Regions from separate parts of the Homo sapiens genome. Here region 1 is linked to region 2. Evidence: promoter capture Hi-C in 16 types of primary human blood cells and fetal thymus (Javierre and others, 2016). All regions are on one chromosome and are shown on one strand. Each heading gives the region's core, a stretch centred on a gene start or on the middle of the fragment in contact. The rest is flanking DNA. Distances are from core to core; before and after follow the strand shown.

The links. Contacts are between HindIII fragments. The CHiCAGO score rates a contact against its expected background, and 5 or more counts as called.
Region 1: a fragment that was not itself captured here is called in contact with the fragment with the promoter of SUCLG1 in region 2 in 3 of 17 cell types (M1 macrophages, M2 macrophages and M0 macrophages); the score reaches 9.2 in M1 macrophages.

Annotation. Positions count from the first base shown.
Region 1 is chr2:84,835,852-84,840,939 of GRCh38, reverse strand. It overlaps TRABD2A (TraB domain containing 2A), which reads left to right. Exons shown (of 7, transcript NM_001277053.2): 4 at 1,617-1,791. Among named protein-coding and RNA genes, the nearest start is that of TRABD2A, 43 kb to the left of the region's middle. The HindIII fragment of the contact is 2,082 bases long and covers 792-2,873 here.
Region 2 is chr2:84,457,889-84,462,281 of GRCh38, reverse strand. SUCLG1 (succinate-CoA ligase GDP/ADP-forming subunit alpha) reads left to right here and starts at 3,002. Exons shown (of 9, transcript NM_003849.4): 1 at 3,002-3,109. The coding sequence starts at 3,013. It also overlaps a transcript of DNAH6 not described here. RefSeq lists a silencer at 2,456-2,645 and an enhancer at 2,826-2,965. The HindIII fragment of the contact is 6,917 bases long and covers 1-3,669 here.

The sequences.
Region 1 (5,088 bases), core at 583-3,082, 380 kb before region 2:
GGGAGAAGGACAGTACAGGCTGAGTGCAGCATCAGCCCAGAAAGGTGACATTTCATTAATGACAGAAGCCTCAAAAGATGTAAGGAGCATCCCCAAAAATCTAGAGGAAAAAAAAGTCAAATTGAGACAAAGTGAAGCAGGAGGAAAGGGAGAACAAGAAACACATTAAAGAAGGAAAAATAGAGTTGGTGGTGGTGATAAATCTTACCTGCACTCTTGCTGAGGGTAGGGAAGGGGGGAGAAAAGTCAAGATCAATTGGGAAATTGACATTTGAAGCAGCAGAAAAAAGTTAATGTGGGCGGAGGATTTGGTCATTACGTGGGCAAATGGTGAGGCTGATGGAGCAGATAATACAGATGTCTTATGCATTTTTCTCCTGTGGCTTTCCCATATCTGTTCTGCCCACAGGGCCCCTACAGGAGGTCAGGGAATGTGCTGTCACTGTGAGTGAGGGCCAGGCTGGCCAGCAGGGAGTGGTGCAGGCTTTGGGTGATGTTTGGAATTTAGAAGGTGGAGCAGGATGTCAGAGGGAGGTCACCCTGTGTATCTGACGCTGCCTCTGTAGAGAGGCTGGTAGAGAGGGGGGCTCTGCTGAAGAGAAGAGATTTTGGGAAATGGGCAGGGGATCTTACATAAATGACATGATTAAAAAAAAAGATGACAGAGTAGAAGATGAAGGCTGTCGATTTGAAAATGAAAGAATATCATTTCGAGGCCGTCGCAAAAGGAGATCTGTTATCCATAAGATGGAAGTTAATGCTGTCACAGAGTCTGAGGACTTTGGAAAGCTTTTTGAGAGGCTACTGGAAGCAGCAGCAGCAGGCAGGGTAGATACTGACCAAGATAATGGGTAACATTGTTAAGTCCCTGGGTGGAGGAGAGAGCATGCACCCAGGGGGAGGAGTGGGAGGCTGAGGTTTGGGAAGCCAGACAGCTGAGGGGGTGGGGAGAAAACACAGAGTGCCAGCCTTACCTGTAGCTCCTGGGCTGCAAGAACCACGCTGATTGTCACAATTTTGATGCACTTTCATCCTGTTATTAGCCAAAATACTGAAACTGGCTAACATGTATACCAGAATCAGTGAAATATTTGCCAGGAGGGCAAAGAACATTGGGGAAAGCAAGAGAGAGAAATAGGAAGTGGAGAAATAATGAAAATGTAAAGTAGAGGATTTATAAAACATTTAAGTGTTTATACAAATTTCATGTTTTCGGTAATAGAATCTAAAATATGTAACTATATAAGACTATTTTTATAAGAAAAGCATGTATGAATCACACAAGTTAAAACTATGGATGTACTGTGCAAAGACAGTGTCCTTTTTTTTTTTTTATAAACACACGGCATCAGACAGAGCCATTTAACTAAAACAGAAGTGCAGTTGTAAATAGTGTAAGAGTTCATTCAATGCACTTCACTTAATATTTTTTTCACTTTGGTTACAGGGAATGTGATAGAGTGGGAAACATAGCAGACAGGAAACTCCAAGAATGGTGTCACTCTTCTCTTGACAACGTCTTGACCATCTAGGTTGGGGGATTTGATGCTCCAATGAAGTAACTTTGTTAATAACTCTGTTGCCCCTTATTTTTTTTTCTCTTTATTTTGGTGGAGGTTCCCAATTTTATTAATGCCACGCTACCACCTCAGGAGCGCATCACTGCTCAGGAGATTGACAGCTACTTACGCCGGGAGCTGATCTACAAGCGGAATGAGAGAATAGGGAAGCGGGTGAAGGCCCTTTTGGAGGAGTTCCCTGACAAAGGCTTCTTCTTTGCCTTTGGAGCTGGTGAGTAGTGGGTCACCTCTGATTAGCCTCTGAAATCTGAGGCTTCTCCCAAGAAGGGAATGTTGAGGTGAGCCCCTGCTTAGGGCCTGTGTTAGTCATGAAGCGAGATGAAGGGAGTGACACCTTCCTTGACTTATTTCAGTTGCAGAGTGGCTCCAGCTGGGGATGGAGCATCCAGCATGGTTGAAATGTTGCTGGATGAGCTGGTGCATGTGACATCACCCATAGCTCTCTCCACACATAAGCCAGCTGGGAAAACATTTTTGTCCTCTGAATTTCATACTTAATCCCAACTTCTTTCTGGTACTTTTCACTTTGTAAACTTTCACTACAAATATGTTTGTCTTTACTCTTCTACCTGACAATGAGCCTCCCAAGTCCAAGGCCTGGGGCTGATACATCAGCTGTTATTGACTGTTAGCAGCACACATGGAGACAGAATAGGACAATTATTTTCTTTTGTGGGCTTCTTGAAATAAATTCTCTCCCCCGGAGTGACTCTGACACAGAATTCTTTGCAGCCTCAGGAAATGAGGATAGAAATGCCAGAGGCTGGACAGTATGCAGAAAGATCATTTGCTGGGCTGGGCTTTGTTTCATATTTTTCTGCTAACTTCATAAACTTAAACAAGTCATGTCACTCAGTTTCTTTACCAGTAAGATAGGGGGTTGGAGAGAAGCAATTCTGAAATGGTGGAGTGAGGGCCTCCAAAAACCTGTTCTTCCATAGCAGCAATAAGAACACTGGAAAAAATGGTCAAAATCAACTTTTCCACAGCTCTGGAAATTAATTAAAGGCTTGCAACAATCCTAGAAGTGTTTATTTAAGAAAACTGGATGAATTTTGATAGAAGCAGTGGGCTTTGTGGCATTTTAACTTGTTCTGTTTTTATCTCCCTTTTCCCAGCTTCACAGTAGCCTTGAAAATCAGGAGCCTTGAACTACAGTAGCTGTGAAAACTGTTTGCCTAATGGTTACTGGAGGGGACAGAATGGGTTCAAAGTTCCTCCAAAGCTCCATCCTTAAAGAATCATCACTATTTGACATGTCCAATAGTTCCCTGAAATTTCCATTCCCAAGCTTGTCTTCATTTGACCTGACTCAGAGCTTGCTCTGTGTGAATAGCCCTATTCTTAGGGTGTGTGTTGAAAACAATCAGTAGCAGCTGTTTAACATCATAGTTGCTGGAAATAGCAATATTAATTGAAGCTTACAAGGGGCTGCCCAAAAAACTTAAAAGCAAAATCCCATAGGGGGTATAGAAAAGCTCTAAAATATTCCTAGAGAGTCACATGCATGAGAAGAGCTGTGCACATGCCCAGGAAAGACCTGAGAAGGTCCTAATCTCTCACCTCTGGCTGATCTTGAGGCTCTGTGTAAGCAGAGTGTGAAAGCTAAGGCAAAGTCATAAATTGCCTGTTGAAGCATCAAATACATGCCCCCAAACTCACACAGCCCCTCTGCAAAGGTTGGGAAACTTGCAAGGAATTTAAGGAAATCTCTGTTCAGTCATTAGCCAGCCACTAAACTAACTGAGCAGATCCTTCAGTGATCACACACAACAAAGAATACAGACTTTACAGACTTAGTCCTAGAAAATCACTACACAAACAGCAACAACAATGCACCTGGGACTAAGGGAGAGGAGATGAGTTCCAGAGTTGGTATATTATTTAAATGTCTAGTTTTCAATAAAAACAATTATAAGACACAGAGCAAAACTAGAAAGTATGGCCCATACCCAGGGAAAAACAAGCAACCAATAGAAGCTGTCCTTGAGGAAGTTAATATCTTGGACTTACTAGAAAATGACTTTAACACTAGTTATTATAAATATGTTCAAAAAACTAAAAGAGGCCAGGTGCGGAGGCTCACGCCTATAATCCCAGCACTTTGGGAGGCTGAAGCAGGTGGGTCACCTGAGGTCAGGAGTTTGAGACCAGCCTGACCAATATGGCAAAACCCTATCTCTACTAATAATACAAAAATTAGCCAGGCGTTGTGGCGCACACCTGTAATCCCAGCTACTTGGGAGGCTGAAGCAGGAGAACTGCTTGAAACTGGGAGGAAGAGGTTGCAGTAAGCTGAGATCACACCACTGTACTCCAGCCTGGGCCACAAGAGTGAAACTCCATCTCCAAAAAAAAAAAAAAAAAAAAAAACCCTAAAATTAACCATATCTAAAGAATTAAAGGAAAGTTTGAGAACAATATCTCACCAATACAGAATATCAATAAAAATATAAAAATTATTTTAAAAGAACCAAATAGGAATTCTGGAATTTAAAGTGTAGGAACTGAAATGAAAAATTCACTACGGGGGCTGAACAGTAGATTTGAACTGGCAGAAGAAGAATCAACATACATGAAGATAGGTTGATTGAGATGATTCAGTATGAGAAAGAGAAAGGAAAAGGAATGAAGAAAAATGAATAGATCTTCAGATACCTGTGAGACACCCTCAAGTGTGCCAATGTATACCTAACGGGAGTCCCAGAAGACAGGAGAGAAAAAAAGAAAGAAATAAAAAGAATATTTGAATTTAAAATTGCTTGAAAATGTCTCAAATTTGATGAAAAATATTACTCTGCACATTCAACCCATGAACTATAAGTTGTATAAAATCAAAAAGTTTCACACCAAGGCGTGTCATAGCCAAACTGTCAAAAGCCAAAGACACAGAATCTTGAAAGCAGTGAGAGCAAAGCAGACAAGGGATCCCCAATAGGATTAACAGCAGATTTCTCATCAGAAGCCATGCAAGCCAGAAGGCTATGGGAGACATACTCAAAATGCTGAAATAAAAGACTGTCAACAAACATTTCCACATCCAGCAAAAATCAAAAACGAAGGAGAAATCTGTTGCATGTGAGCTGAATAGAATTTGTATTCTGCTGTTGTTGGATGAAGTATTCTTTAAATGTCAATTAGATCAATTTGATTGATGATGCTCTTCAGTTCAACTATATTCCCTATCTGATAATTCCAGAATCTCTATCATGTCTGAGTCTGGGTCTGATGCTTTCATTGTTTCTTCAGATTGTGATTTTTCTTGCCTCCCAGTGTGACTTGTAATTTTTAATTGAAAGCTGGATATGATGTATTTGGCAATGGGAAGTGAGGGAAATATGTTTTTAGTGTGAGGGTTTATGTTAATCTTTCTCAGAGTTGGGCTGTTTAATGTTTTGCTGTGGTCTGAATGTTCCTTAAAACTTGTGTGTTGAAACTTAATTATTATTGTCATGGTATTAAGAGGTGGGGCCTTTGGGAAGTGATTAAGACATGAAGGCTCCACATT
Region 2 (4,393 bases), core at 1,753-4,252:
CAGCCTTCCACTGAATACACAATTTAGTCTGGCTCAGTGAATCTGCATTTTTACATAAACAATAGGGCAGAGGGAGCAATCAGATATGCATCTGTCTCAGGTGAGCCTCAGAGTGATGACTGAGTTCTGCCTGTCCTTTATCCACCAGGAATTTCCTGTGGGCAAATTGTGAGGGAGGTATGTAGCTTATTATCTTTGTAGCTATATTATTTAGGAATAAAATGGGAGGTAGGTTTGCCTCAGGCAGTTCCCAGCTGGACTTTTCTCTTGGCTTGATGACTTTGGGGTCCCGAGATTTATTTTCCTTTCACACCCTCATACAGTGAATTCTAGTCTTTTGCTTATCTGAGCCGGCTGGGATGTGGGGGTGAGAATTCAAAGACAAGTTTGGCCACTTCCTATCAAACTTCAGAGAGAAGTAGCTCCTAGACTGCCCTCCTTATGGATGTGGAGGTAAGGCTTGTTGTCTTCAGCTTTAGAGCTTTAGACAAAGTTTTGAGACAAATAGAAATATCCTATTCTAATTTGGTTACTCACTTTAGTTAAAACCTTTAAAACATGATCCTGCCATGTAAAAAAGACAGTTCTTTAATGATAATAACTACCATTATCGACTATTTGGTACAAGGTGACAGTAGCTTTATATACTAAATGTATTAAATGTTCACAACACTCTTATGAAATAGGGAGTTTCATACCCATCTCAGTAATAAAACCTGAAACCCAGAGGTCATGTAGCCAGTGGCAGAGTTGGAATTTGAACCCAGACCTGTCTGATTTCCAAACTCAATCTGCATACAAAGATGAGTGGTGTGGTATTGACTAGTGTGGTTGTCCCCTACCTATGAGCTACAGAATTGAGGTAGGGGTGTTCCCGGACCAAACTGAGGGTTGGGCTGCTATTTTTTGTGGCCCAATAATGAGATGTAGATGAACTGGGGAGGAAGAGAGTTTTTATTTCTGCAACCGATTACAGGGAGAAGGCCTGGAAATTATCATCAGACCAACTTAAAATTACAGTTTTCCAGAGCTTATATACCTTCTAAGCTATATGTTTACTTGTAAGTGTGCATTTATCTAAAGACATAAGTGATTAACTTCTTTTAATCTATAACTAAGGTCTGAGTACTGAAGACCATCCTCTGAAGCCTCAATAAATTTACTTAATCTACATGGGTTTAGGTGCTGGGGTGATTACCCTTATCTTATCCCCTGCTAAATCACAGAGGTTTGGAGAGTTCTTTCAGACCTCCAATAAACTTGTTTGTGGAGGCCTGGGGAGTTTCTTCGGACCTCCAATAAAACTTGTTTAATCCTAAATGGGTCCTGTTAAGAATTTCTTCATTAATTTGTCATGCTTCAAGGCCCAGGAAAGGCCTAGGCAAAACCCTTGGTGGGTTTCTGTTACATCTCAGCCTTTGTATAAGGGCACTGGCTTTTAATATTTAACTTAACCACTCAGTCAGCACTGAAACATTGTTATGGAGGCCTGCGTTAGTGAGACCTGGTCTGCCACAGGGGTGCAGTTATTACAAGAGGTTGAAATATCCTAAGTCCATCAAACATTGCCTGTGGATCCAAAAAATAATCTATATACTACTATTTCTCCTATATATATCAATTCAATTCAACGATGAGTTATTTGTGTAAGGCATTGTTCTAGGTGCTGGGGATACTCCAGGATACAAAACAAACAAAAATCCCCGTCTTCATGGAAATACAAATTTTCATTAAAAGTGTACTGAAATTATATTTTTTGTCATCATGCATTTTATCAATTAAATGAAACTAAACATATAACTTATCAAGCGACAGCTCAGGAATAATTTTGCTATTTAAAATAGCAAGGGATTTTCTATTTATTTGCCATAAAAATGTCCATTTTGTTATAATGGATATATCTGGAAACCACTGATACTATTTAACTCTGAGGAATTTAGTTATCACAAGAACATGATCCATGAGGGAGGAGTTTATTTGCAGTGAAGTCCAACCTGTTAATGACAATATTTGGATCATAAAGGAAGTATTGGGCAATCTCCTGGGGTAATCCCACTCATCCATCCCACAGCTCAGTGCCAATTATAATGACTACCTAAGTAAATTAGGATTGCAATTTTATTGACAATTCTGATGAGGAATCTCAGGAGCACGATTTTCGGCAGAGACGCAGATTACTTCATCTCTTGTTTACCTTTTGACTCTGGGACTCTCTGAGGTTCCTTCTAAAGCTGTTACAGAAGAGGGAACTGTTTGTCCAATCAGGGAGCAAAGTCACATTTGACCTCGAATTTCAGCCCTTAGGATCCTCAGGGAATAAACACTCATGCACTTAGTGCTAGTCAAAGACTGCATGATTATTTAACTAAAAAAATTCACATTCCAAGAAGTTAACTGTCAGTAAGATAGGTTTTGGTCTTTCTCATCACATCTTTCCCTTCACAGGCCACCAGTGCCAGTTCGAATTCCCGTCCCCAGCGGCAACCCTTCCGGGTCCAGGCACAGGTACGCGGTGAGAAATATTATTCTCTCTAATAGCAAACGAGGAAAACGAAGGGGGAAGGAGATGGGCCTGGGATACAAAGTTCTGGCACTGCTCTTCGCACCTCACCTCGCTGTTTCTTCCCTCCTAGTCTTCAAGTCCCTTGTCTCCCCGGTCTCACTGCCGCTCTTCCCTCGCTCCCTTCCCGCCGCCTCACTCAAAAGCTACGAACCAGTCGCGGCCGTCAGACTACATTGCCCACAATGCCACGCGCTGGCCAGTCTCGCGTGGGGTTTTCCCTCAGCTGCTGTTATAATTAATGTTAATCAAACCCACATTTCTAGGAAGGAGCCGAGTTATTATCTGCCTCTCCGATAGGATGCCTCTTTGTCTTCACCTGCCATTCCCGCTGTTTCGTGAAGAATCCTCTGTAAAGGGAAATTTGTTCAGGCGACTGCTGTGGCCACCCTCTGCCTCCTCCGGCCTCTGCCCCTGGGAGGTCCCCGGGGGCCTGGGAGTGTCATTGGCGTATGACCGCAACCCTTGCCGCTGCCGCTGACATCGCTACCATGGTCTCCGGCAGCAGCGGCCTCGCCGCCGCCCGTCTCCTGTCGCGCAGCTTCCTCCGTGAGTCCAGCCAGTACTGTCTTCCTGGCGCCCGCGGGTTATTGGCCCCGCCGGACCCAACCTCCTGGCCCAGGCCGCGGCTGGGCCCTCAGGGCTGGACCTCGGCGGGGGCCTGGGAGCCGCTTGGGATTCCGGCTTCGAGTCGGGGACCCCTACGGTGGAAGGAGCTTTGCTGGATACGTGGGGCGGGGGGCATGACTTAGGCCGCTGGCAGATGGAGATATTGGGTGGCTGAGCCAGGATTCGGGTCCGGGAGCCCTGCAAATTTGGGAGCTTGCTCTCGGCCCCGCGGTGACAAATGACAGGATGGGGGTGGCGTCTAGACTGGCCTTATTTGGAGTTGGGGATGAAGAGGTCCAAGGTGAACTTGGTGGGGAAGGTAAGGGTCTGGGTTGAGAGGTAGAGGAAGAGTGTCTCAGTAGGAAGTTGGGGGATGAGGCTGTCCCTAGTACGGAAAGGTCCTGCACTTCGAATTCCCCCTCTGCAGGATTGTATGTCAGGGAAAGATGGTTTCTGCACACGGAGTGGGGTCGGCATAGCCGCATAGACTACTAGAAGCTTATGGTTGGCTGGGACCTAAACCAGCTTATTTGCAGTGTCTCCACCAGGCGATTTGTGGACACATCCGTTCCCGAAAACTTAGTACCCAAGGTTGCTAGTCTTTGAGACACGCTGACTATGGAAAATTCTTGCCATATTCAAAGTCTCTGTGCTTGTCAGGTAGGTTATAGTAGAAAGAAACTTTGGAATCAGCCACATCAGGGTTTGAAGTCTGGCTAGTCCCTTTTCAGTCTGTGTAATAACCCTGGACACTTAATCTGTTTTTCAGTGTTTCCAATCACATGAAAATATTAACACATTTTAAGGGGCCTGAAGCACCATCACTTGTAAGGTGGACCATTATTTTGTTTACCACTAACAATGAAGAACGATTGCTTATTAAAACTGTGACACACCAGTGGTTGTCACATGTATCCTGGTTTTTTAAAAAGTGAAAAAAAATGTGCATTTTAGCAATGATGATGTACAGGATGATCTGGGTTCACTGCAGAATAAGTGGAGCAATTTATATAAAGCATCTCGTATGTAACAAACACTCAAAGTTAGTTTTCTTTTTCCGCTTTGCTCTTAATTCTGCTTGTACTGAATATTTTATGAGACTTAATTCCTTTCTTGAGAAGATTACATTCTGAAAGTGTACATTGATGAGTGTGCACTCAATAGCTAACACTTAGTTGCCAATCACTTGAGGACAAAGGTCTGGCTAGATAACGTTAGCAAGTA